Linked DNA regions of Homo sapiens: region 2 is linked to region 1. The links are contacts of gene promoters, found by promoter capture Hi-C in blood cells and fetal thymus (Javierre and others, 2016). All regions are on one chromosome and are shown on one strand. The core of a region is centred on a gene start or on the middle of the fragment in contact, and the rest is flanking DNA. Distances in the headings are between cores, read along the strand shown. Region 1 holds the start of POGK (pogo transposable element derived with KRAB domain). Region 2 holds the start of SLC19A2 (solute carrier family 19 member 2).

Region 1 (5,623 bases), core at 986-3,485:
TAAAGAACTATTATGTTGATTAAATGGATGTTCGGCTGATATTAGCCACCAACTAAGAGAAACTCATCCTATTGAATTACCAGAGTAATGCACTGTCTCAAAGACTGGCTTCAATCACTCCCCATTCAGACTCAGATAAAGTCTTATGGAGAATGGGAACAATAACAGAGCTGAGAGAATGTTAGGACAATATATGGTTCAACTCTCTTTTTGCAGATGAAACACCAGCAAAGAGAAGCACAATGACTTAGAAAACCACTTAAACATGAGTCTGTAGTGTATTGTGCCTAGGCCAGCACGTTGCTCCTAGAGTAAGTCTTGTTAGCAATTACAGACCCGTAAAAAGGTGGATCCTCTAAGATCCTCTAACAGTAATTGAGATCATGGGGCTGTGGGCTCAAAGTCAAGAATTCGGGTGGGTCACTCTTAATTTCTTCCCAGGGACACCTAATCCAAGCCCATGAGAACATTAGGGCTCTCAGAGACTAAAACTCTAACATAGTAGGGTTTTTCGTGTGTGTGTGTCTGTGTGTGTGTGTGTGTGTGTGTCTATCTCAAAACTGTATTAATTTCTTTTCTAAGATGCTGGGGTGCCAGCAACATCCCTATTACTCTTCTCCCTTCCTAATGTCCTCCTCACTTTCTGTTTGAATCTGCCATTTCCTCAGAAAAATTAAGAGGGCAATGTCAATCAATTCAAACTAACATGTCACTCCTGTTCTACAAATACTTACTTTTACACAAAAATAATTGTTCATTAAAACAAAAAAGTAAATTCTAGCCTCCCTCCCAATATTTGAACGATCTTTTCCACCCACAGATTAGATCTTCTACGGTCTTGGGTTGTCACCGTGATTGCACTTCCAAGATGTGTACGTTATGTCATGCTACATTTTACGTGTTAAGAGCACAGTGCACAGTGACCTCTCCCATGACTGAGAGAAGTAAAATTCACATGTAAGTAGTAGTGGCCACAAAAACTTGGAAAGACAGGTCTTTTCCAACAGATATTCAGGTCTCAGAGACAATCTGAAGAGTTTGACGGACTCTTTCCTTGACCAAAGTTTAATCAGGCTTAAGTCCTCTTCTTCAGCAGGCCTCCACCCTGGTCCCCTGACCACTCACCCCGAACCTTTGGCCTGCCCAGCTCTATTTTAGCAAGAACCCTGCTAAGTTAGGTTAGAGAGAAATCACCACCCTTGATATCTGATCACCCTGGATATCTGATCAAATTTCTCATTCCCCCACCCTTGATATCTGATCGCCCTAGCCTGCCTTCAGCAAGAATCCTGTTAAGTGGGTTCAGCAAGAATCCCTCTAGGTGCTTGATGTCTCGTATCAGTAACTTTCCATCTACTGACCCCTTCGTTCTGCTCCTTGGCTATACATCCCCAGCTGTCCTTACTGTATTCCGTGTTAGACCTCATCTCTCCCCCCAGTGTGATCATCTTTACACCTATAGCAATAACCCTGTATAAAGTCTTCCTTACTGTTTTAACAAGTGTCAGAATAATTTTTTCTTCAACAAGTTCTCAACAAAAACCCATACCCAGAATCTTTTTCTGGAATGAAAAGGGCTTCAGGGCTTCTCAGGTCACTTTTGTTGTATTGCCCACAGAGCTGAGAGTAAACAACTCCTTTGGACGTTTTGGAGAAGAAAGGTCCTTCTATACACCCACTTCATCCAAGGAATTACATGCTTGGGATATTAAGCAACAGCTACAAAAATCAGGAAGTTCCTTCTCCATGTATATGACGAAGTTCTGGACAGGAGCCCGCTGCCAGAATACGAATACTCTTCCCCAAAGACCCCTCCTCATGCCCCTACACGCTCTTGCCGGTCTAGCCTTTCATTGCCTGAAGCACGGCGAGAACGCCTGGAGAGCTCGTCCAAGCAAGTGCAACCCGCTGGTGACTGCAAATGAGCACATGGAACTGTGCGCCCACGCTACGCTCGGTTAAAATCAATCTGGGCTCTTCCTGCCTCGTCCACGCCGAGGTCACACGCAGCACTGGAAGCGGCCTGCATCGGGCGGGGCGGGGAAGGCCGAGGGCACGGCTACCCAGGCCCGCCAGGGACTGCCCGGACCGGCCGGAAGCCGCGCCTAGAGGAGGGCCCCGGAGCTCGCGCGGGCGCCGTCCCCCGGCGCCGCCGAGGCCTGCTGACATCAGCCGCGCTCCTCCCCTCGCCTCCCAACACCCTCAGCTCCGGGCCGGACCCTCCCTCCTCCCACCACGTGTCCTCCCCGCTCCCTCCCGAGGGGCCGCGCGCACGGGAGGACGGAGAGGCGGAAAGGATGGCGCTGTGACAGCCGGGCCGGAGCCCTCGCGTCCCCACCCCGCGCCCTGGCCGCTGGGCCCGGCGGTGAGTGCGCGCGGGCGGGGGCGGCGGCGGCGCGGCCCCTCCCCCGGGTCCCGGGCGGCTGGGCCGCGGCAGAGGCGGGGGCGCCGAGGCTGCGCCGCCGCCGCCGCCGCCTTTGTTGCGGGCCCGCCGGGGAGGCGGGCGGCGCCGGCTCTCGCCGCCCGGCAGGTGCGCTGGGGCCGGGAGGGGGCCAGGTGGGGAGGCGGGCCGGGCGGAGGGGGCAGCGGAAGCGCTCCCGGCGCGGTTCCGCGGAGAAAGGGAAATGGGGCAAGATGGCTGGAGAAATCCGAACGCGCCCGGGGGCGCGGCGGCGGTGGCGCAGGCGGGGCAGGGCGGGCGGCGGCCCTGGTTGCGGCACCTTAGCGCGGGGAGGCGGCCCCTCCCACCTCTGCCCCGGAGCCGGCAGGGAGACCGCCGCCAAGTTCGGGCCCCAGCTGCAGGCATCTGAAGCCTAGACCCATCCATGCCGCGTTCGCCTATCTTTTTTGGAAATATCGAAGGAACCGACTTTGAACTCCAGAGGGATCTTTTCTTTGGAGGTTCCCCGATGCAGCCCTCAAGATGCATCCGCACTCCACACCTAGGAATTGCCCGCGCCCATAGAGGGCAGGAGTGCGGCCCTTTGTACTGGCCAAGAGTCAGCGAATAGAGAATTTGCAGCCCAGAGGCAATGGGTTATTTCCCTGTCGGGGTGGGCCCCAGCCGATTTCTGCACCTTTTTGGGTATCCAGGCATAACCCTCACTATGTTTCACTGACTCCTGCGTTTGCAAAGTCCCTTAAGGTAGAATGACCCTATTTTCTGAACCAGCTCGTGGACAGAACCTTTGAATTTGGAAAATCCAGGCAATGGGCCTACTGAGCCAACCGCTCCGCCCATGCTTAACTGGCTTCTAGCACCCATTCCAGTTGAGTAAGTGTCCAATCTGTGTTCAGACACCTTCACTGATAGGAAATCAGCACCTTTCCCCTGCCTCTGATTCCTGTTTGGGTGGCACTGGCTGTGAGAAAGTACTGCCTTTCTCACTGCTTAAAACCTTTTCCAGGAGTATTTATCCACTGGCCGGCCTCTGTTCTGCCGTCCAGTCTCTACAAACCAGTCTGGGTTCTCTTCCCCAGATAGCTTTTTAAATATTTGAAGGCAGCCAGATACGTTATCTACCCACAGCCTCTCTTATCATAATTAAACATGTCACCCTGTAGCTTCCTGGCCGACTCTTGTTTCCTTACTTCCCTCCAGCGGGAACAGTGCTTGGGGCTAAAGAGGTTTGTATGTGGCTCAGCCTCCCCCATCATAGGCTTTGGGGAGGTCACAGTGACACCTGGTTTTTCTGAACCTGAATCTTGCTTGCAGAGATGGAGTCCACAGCCTACCCTCTCAATTTGAGCCTGAAAGAAGAGGAAGAGGAAGAAGAGATTCAGAGCCGGGAACTAGAGGACGGCCCGGCAGACATGCAGAAAGTACGAATCTGCTCTGAGGGCGGATGGGTAAGTAAGAAGGTGTGGAGTCCACACAGCCAGCAGATGCAGGCCTGAGAGCCCAGCTTGCTTTAAGTCTCCTCCTCAGACAGACGTGGGAAGTAAAAATAGCCCAGCCCGGTGTGTTTGCATTCCTGAGAAAACAGCTCTGTGGCTTTAAAAGGCAGTGCAAAGAATGGAGGAGGTGTTATGGAAACAGTCCCTCAGCCATGTAGCTTGTCATCGTTCAATTGGAAGTCCTAGAAGCCAGGACCTTGTCTCTCTCGTTCACCCACTTATCCTGCACTGCGTTTGATGCCAGGCACATTGTAGGCACCAAGTAAATGTTTGTTGACTTACTGCTGGTTGAAGGGAACCATTTTAAATAAGACTCGAGTCATTGGGTTGACATGAGAGGTTAGGCTAGTTGGTTCTGTGTGAGCACCTCTTACCACAGTTGACACAGGAGAGCTGCCTGTCCAGCTGACCTGGATAGAAATGGTGGGCAGCAGGGAATACAGAGATTCAGGGTATACACGCAGAATAGTATGATAGAGGTCGGTTTATACAAATGCAAATGCAGTAGATACTTATAGTTACAGATAGTTATTCACCGTAGTTACTGGACTTCGTGGTAATTAGGCATGAATAGTAAACATTTTAAATAAGCAACAAATTGACATTCCTTTTCTCTGCTTATTTTCCGTTGTGTATAAACATTGTCAGTATACATAGTATCCTTTGCTTCCATGAAGAGCCCCTATCCATACAAGCATGGTACTTCTAAATTGTTCCCTACCAGAGGAGAGAACTGGGATGCAGAAAGATTATCTGCCTTGCCCTAAGGTTACACATGAACACTGACATTTGTTCTTCAAAACAGGTCTCCTGAGCTGCACCCTTAAAAGTAATGCATTTTACCATATGTATGCTATACCTTAATTTAAAAAAAAAAAAAACAGTGCAACCACAGGCTCTCAGTTTGCCAGTCTAGCTGTGGACACCGCGCTGCCTTTGTCTCATCAGTGTTCTTTGCCCACCACATCCTTCTTCCCAATTCTGATCCAAGCAGGCGTCAGGTCTATTTAGCCTGGAACAAGAACTCAAGGCAGTCAAAACTCAGGGCTTTGAGGCTAGATTGGTCAACCCAGAACATCTAAATGGAGAGCCTTGGAGAACAGGTGCAATGAAAGTGAATGTTGGGACAGTGAGGAAGGAGCAAGATGAAGACCAACCATGCTTAGGTGGGAAAAGAAGGAAGTAACCAGAAGGGCTGGAGGAGGGAGTCCAGCAGCTGGTGGTGCTGGGGATTGGGCATTTGTGGCCTCCAGGCAATCAGCCATCCATCCACAGTTACCAAGCACAGTGCTGGGCGTAAAGAGAGACTCTTTTCCTGATGGAATTTCCAGTCTTGTGAGCAAGGCAGGAAAGTAAACATAAGTAATAGTAAGCACAGTGTGCAGAGTGCAGTGGTGGAAGTCTGCAAGGATGCACCAGGAGCCAAGATGAGGGGATGCCTCATTCAGGCTGAGAACTCCGGGGCTTCCTGGACAAGGCCTAATCTTGAGCAGTGAGCAATTTTGCCCCCACCCCTGGACATTTGGCAACATCTAGAAACACTACCCCCTTTCCCCACCCCTGGATATTTGGCAATATCTGGAAACACTTTTGTTGGTCTGACTTGGTGGGGGTGCGTTGGGGACTGGGAGATCCTCCTGGCATCTAGTGGATAGAAGCCAGGGGAGCTGCTAGATATCTACAGTGCACAGGATGCCCCCCCACCACCACACACACACACACATAC
Region 2 (5,623 bases), core at 1,730-4,229, 2.6 Mb after region 1:
CACATGCTACAATGATGAAAGGATAAAAAAGTTTTTAGAGATAAAGATCTGTTTTACTGAAAGTCTGGCCTTCAACTATTAACATACAGTCAAATTTTAGCCTGCTTAAAACTTACACACTGGTATCTGTTTTAAAATTAATGCTTTTCCTGAAATCTAAGAAAAAAACTTTTGAGAGTAGACAGAAGAAATCTTTTTCTCCTCTCCTTTTGTTTTAGGATTTAGTTAACAATAGCTCTATTCAAACCAACTTGGCCCTTCTGCAGTCTTCTAAGAGCAAATACAAACTTTAATACAAATGTCGCTGAATATGACTTAGCATTAGCTTTGCTTAAAAATCATGTAATTTTTTTTATTTAACTGTCCATGGCAAAAAACAAGCATTCAGTAAGTAATGAATAAGTTGTTCTATTTATTTCAATTATTAGTTATACAAAAAAACGTAGGGTTTGCCACAAGGTAAGCAGAGGAGAATCAGCCATGATTTGGTGGTCCTCTGAGAAGACACCCCTTCCCCAGACTACTAGATTTCTCTTCAAATCCCACGCTTTTCCTCAACTAATTTGCAATAAGAGAAGTACACTTATGTTTTTTGTTACACAATCAGCAAATAGTTACTACGCCTGGCAACTCTGCTTTATTTCTGTGCCCCCTGAACACACTTCACTCACCTTGAAAAGCTTTCTGATAGGACAGAGCACATGATCTTGGTAGCACGTCACACAGCAACCTTCTACCCAGAGCACATGACAAAACAGATCAGCTTTCAAATATCAACACTGGGAACATGTTTCTCTCCCTGTGTTTCACTATCCGGAAAGGCGCACAAACTGTGCAGATCACATGGCAGTTCACATGAAACTTTAATGGTCAGCTGTTCACAGCAGTATCAATTCTGCCTCAGTGGCTACACCTCAGATTCAGTGGTTGTTTTGGGTCTCCAGAATCATACTTTCTCATATCAGTGCAGTAATTTTCTTGTAAAATCATTCTGTCATGAAATTTGGCTGTTTTGACATTATTGCTTTAAATCAGTATTAAAACTCAAATAGGTTATGAATAACTGTTACGGTCGCTTATGTAATGATCCACAAGACTGAGAAACGGCCCAGCCACTCCATCCCACAACTGGCAGGTCAATAGGGTAATTTAAGGCCAGGCAAAAAGTCAGTGATACTTGCTAGAAGTGAACAAATGTCAGACTCTCAAGTGAAACCCTCAATACGTAAGTCAATACTGATTCTTAATTCTCTCTCAAGTGCCCTTGAAAATGACGGAGCATTGCAACAAACAAACTGCAAACAACAAACTATGAGTAACTATATCTCGCCAGTGTGCAAATGATTCCGGTAGTGCCATCTCTTGTTCTGACCTGTTATGCAGGGTTACTGAGTGGCTACTCAAAAGAAGTGACTGACTACTACCCACATAGAGAAGAGTAAGGTTTAAATGGGAGGAGTATTTTACAGCACCTGGGGCAAGGAGGCAGGGTGGAAGGAACAGGTGTAGGAAAAAAGAAAAAGCTCTCAAGTGGCCCCTTGACTGATAGTAGGAAAAAGAACATGAGACCTCAGCTTTCACCCTTTGTTGTATTCAAGGAAGAGGGTGTTGAATCGGCTTTATTTCGGTTTTGTGGAAGTACTTTGGGTTTAATTTCTTTCTCAGTTTATATATTGTCTTTCTTCTGCAAAAATCAAGTGCTGGTTTTGACCATGCACTTAAATAGGTCAGCACATTTCTAAAGTACACTATGCGCTTCTGAAGTACTTTATTTGTAAGCCCTCATCTAGGGAAAAAATCAATCAGCAAGAAACTCTTGATGATGGACTACGTGCTCTCAATTACCCTGAACATCACAGAAGGCCTTCAAAGACATCACCTTGTATCTGAGAAGCAAAACTAACATCTGTGAAGCAACAATTCGCAATACAAGAAACACTATAATTAAAAGTCAATTATGTTTCACCATCTGCCTTTATCCCTGGAGGTTGGTCTTAAGGTAGAGAGGGGCAGGATATCCTTGGACACAACCTCACCCAATTAAAAATCAAGACAAATTAAGATGTTCTGTACTTCTGTCCTGTCCTTACTTGATTAAGCCCACCCATTCTGCCAAATGCAAACAAAGTAAGGTATGGACAGGAAGCAGGTGAAGGAGGTAGAGGGAAGATCCTTTCAGAAAAGCAGTGGTTGCCTACTTTCAGTCAATGAATATTTACTAAGCCGTGTCCAAAGTACACTTTGCTGTTTTCACTTCTTTGTCAAAATATTGCCCCCTCGCCCCCAGCAGGAACTGCTGGACCAGTCTGGGCAGTCACGCTAAGCCACATTACAACACGATCAGCATACTGCCTGACGCACAAGGCACGGGGCCTCTGGACGCGTGTTCTGAGCCCTTCGCAGGAGACTCGTCCTACAGAGCCGAAGAAAACAGAAAATCATGAACACAAAGAAGAGCACGAAGCCGACCTCCAACTGGCAAAATCAGAAATCTCTGCCGAGAATGGCTCGAGCGCTTTTCTCGGTCCTCTCTTCCTCCGCTGCCCACCCGCAGGCCGGTCGCCCGCCCTTCCCGCGCCCCGCGTCCGCCGCGCGTACCTCCCTCTCGGTCAGGTTCTTGTCCGGCCCCAGCAGGTACGGGGTCAGGAAGGGCTCGGACGGCCTGAGGCTGGCGAAGAAGCCGTAGGCGCAGAGCAGCGCGGTCGGCAAGAACCAGCATTCGCGACGGACCCGAGCGGTCCGCAGGAGCACAGTGGCCGCCGCCGCCGCCGCCCGCCGAGACACCGGGCCGGGCACATCCATCCGGGGCGCGAGGGGAGGGGACCCGGCCCGGCCCCTTCCTTCTCCTCCTCCGCCAACTGGAGTGAGGGTCAGGCACTTGTAACCGCGAGTGACGCCTTCTCCCTGTAAGGCCAGGACGTTCTGGACTCGCCGCCGCCTCCGGCTACAGAACCCCCAGCTTTACCCTACAGACGCCTCTAGGGTCGCTGCCTGATCGCCCAGTTTAAGGGAGACCCGTCCTAAGGCCCACCCTCTGCCACCGCCTCCACTCCGGGAACCAATCACAGCGGACGCCGGGAATACTTGCCTGCTCTTCCATTGGTCGTGGGTCACACGACGTGAACTGGGGCGGTGGCAGCACGCCAGGCCTCTGACGTCCCAGGGCTCAAGCGCGGAGGACATGTGGAACTCCACTCCAAAAGCGGCGGCTTGCGGCGGAGCTCTCTCTAGTGAGGCGGCCAGCTGGCGTTCGTGGCACACTTGCTGTCGGCTCCGCTCATCTGTTGGGAATGCGTCCTGTGGGCCTAGTCCTCCGCTGGAAGAAACGCGCTGTTCTCCCCAACCACCGTTTATCATTCTTATTCACCGTCTCCGGAATGTCCATTCAGTTTCCGCTCCTGAGAGACTTAGTGACTGAGGCCAGGCAAAGATTTCACCTTGGGGAGGGGGAACGTTAAACCTTTCCTCCAGCAGCTTTCGTGTTTTAAATTGTATTCATCCGCCATGGAAAGACATCAGAAGCCCAGGATCTAAGAGACAGACTGAAATGAAGAAAGTAGATAATATTGTGAGAATAATGAACAAGCTGGTCACTGAACAGCAGAACCGTAATGGAGTCCCAGTTAAAGGGTTTTAACTTTATTTCGTCACTTTTTGCAAGCATGATACAAAGAAAACAAACACCTAACTACGCTACGGTTTATAGTTAAAAGGAAGGTGGAAGATCCTGAGTCATTACAGCAATCACAAAACATGATGGATTTCTTCATTTAAAAACACAAAAGAGGTCTTGGCATAGTTTTCAAGGGCAAAGCATGACAAGACTCTCCAGTGCTTTCTTTCATCCCCCTCTGTGTGCCTTTTTCTGCCTGACTCACAGCCTGGCTCAATCCTAATCTTTCTACTGCAAAGATGCAGCATTTAAAGCAATTTTTCCTGTGCAGTATTTGTAGAATGACAGATCCTGCCAGAAGCTCTTGGAAACATTTTGGAACTATCTTGCTTTTCTGTATGTTATGATCCATCTAGCACCGTTTTCCTCCTGTGGTAGCAAATGACACTTTTTTCAAGCATCAGCAGCAGAAATGAGTCTACCAGATGGAATAAGATACTGGTAAAGGGAAAGATTTGTTTCTAAGACTGCACAAATGAATGCACCCAAATCTGTGAGTTGATTAATCTGTGAAGAAATACAACTGGCAGTATTTACATATCTCAATGAGTCTCAAAGTGTGGTCGAGGAAGCCCTGGGGGTCCTTGGGACCCTTTCAGAGGTTCCACGAGCTCAAATCTATTTTCATAACCATGCTAAGTCTTTATTTCCTTTTCCACTCCAGAGGCTATATAATGTCTGATGACATCATCGCTTTATAGGATGAGAGAATACGTGCTTGTATATTCTTGTGTTTGTAAGACTTTCCAGGTTTAATTTATTACCATATGGCAATTTTCAATAAGTATAACCCACAAAACCCAACAGATTTTTGGGGCACCTCTAACAAGGGTCCTAAGACCAAAATGTTTGAGGACTGCTAATCGATATTATTCAATTGTCTAGTCCCCTAAACTCCAACCCTTCTTATCAGGACTACAGAGAGAAAACAGGTGGTCTTCTTGACAATCGCTTTGTATTTACATTCAGTGCTTTAGTAGAAGAGAAGAAAGAAAGAGAAAGCAAGCCAGAGAGGCCTCGGAAAGAGAAGCCTACTTATTAAAAATAGCTTTCTGGCTGGTCACGGTGGCTCACTCCTGTAATCCCAGCACTTTGGGAGGCCGAGACGGGCGGATCACTTGAGGTCAGGAGTCTCAGACCAGCCAGGCCAACATGGCGAAAACACGTCTCTACTAAAAATGCAAAAATTAGCCGGGCATAGTGGCATGCACGCCTGTAGTCCCAGCTACTTGGGAGGCAGAGGCAGGAGAGCCACTTGAACCCAGGAGGCGGAGGTTGCAGTGAGCGGAGAGCGAGACTCGCGAGTACTCGTCTCAAAAAACAAAACAACAATAACAAAAACAGCTTTCCATCCCTTCCCTGAGGCTTGGGTACCTGAACCACGTTAATCTGTAAATCACTGCTTCTGTAACTTTTCCTTGGTATAAATCACATAGGCAATGAGGTTGGGTATAAACAGTAATTGTCCTTGAATTGGGTAGATGTTTTCTTATTATTTTTGTCTAAGAGGTCATTGCGATAGGCAGAATTCTAAGAATGATCCCCAGTGACGCTTGCCCTTGTATAACCCCCACCCATTTGAGTGTGAGGTGAAACCTATGAATTTGATGAGGCAATACTCCTGTTATTATGTTACGTTTTATGACAGATGTGAGATTTTCCAGGTGGGCCCAATCTAATCACAACAGCCCTTTAAAAGCAGAGATTTTCCGTCTGCTAAGAGCAGAAGAGGAAGTCAGAGAGATTTGAAGGATGAGAAGAATTTGACGTGCTGCTGTTGGAGGGGGCTACATACCAAGAAATGTGGGCATCCTATAGCAACTGAAACTGGCTCCTGGCTGACAGCCAGCAGAGAATCAGGATATCAGTCCCAGAATCATAAGGAACTGAATTCTGCTAAAAACCTAAATGAGCTTGGAAGTGGGATTCTTCCGAGAAGAGCCCAGCCGG

What was found. Contacts are between HindIII fragments. The CHiCAGO score rates a contact against its expected background, and 5 or more counts as called.
Region 2: the fragment with the promoter of SLC19A2 here is called in contact with the fragment with the promoter of POGK in region 1 in 1 of 17 cell types (non-activated CD4 T cells); the score reaches 9.5 in non-activated CD4 T cells.

The regions. Positions count from the first base shown.
Region 1 is chr1:166,837,240-166,842,862 of GRCh38, forward strand. It overlaps POGK (pogo transposable element derived with KRAB domain), which reads left to right and starts at 2,236. Exons shown (of 6, transcript NM_017542.5): 1 at 2,236-2,365; 2 at 3,716-3,849. The coding sequence starts at 3,718. RefSeq lists silencers at 1,992-2,421, 2,522-2,761. The HindIII fragment of the contact is 10,121 bases long and covers 1-5,623 here.
Region 2 is chr1:169,482,965-169,488,587 of GRCh38, forward strand. It overlaps SLC19A2 (solute carrier family 19 member 2), which reads right to left and starts at 2,980. Exons shown (of 6, transcript NM_006996.3): 1 at 2,599-2,980. The coding sequence starts at 2,802. RefSeq lists enhancers at 2,385-2,444, 2,987-3,281, 3,085-3,334, 3,117-4,037, 3,345-3,414 and a silencer at 2,625-2,804. The HindIII fragment of the contact is 10,248 bases long and covers 679-5,623 here.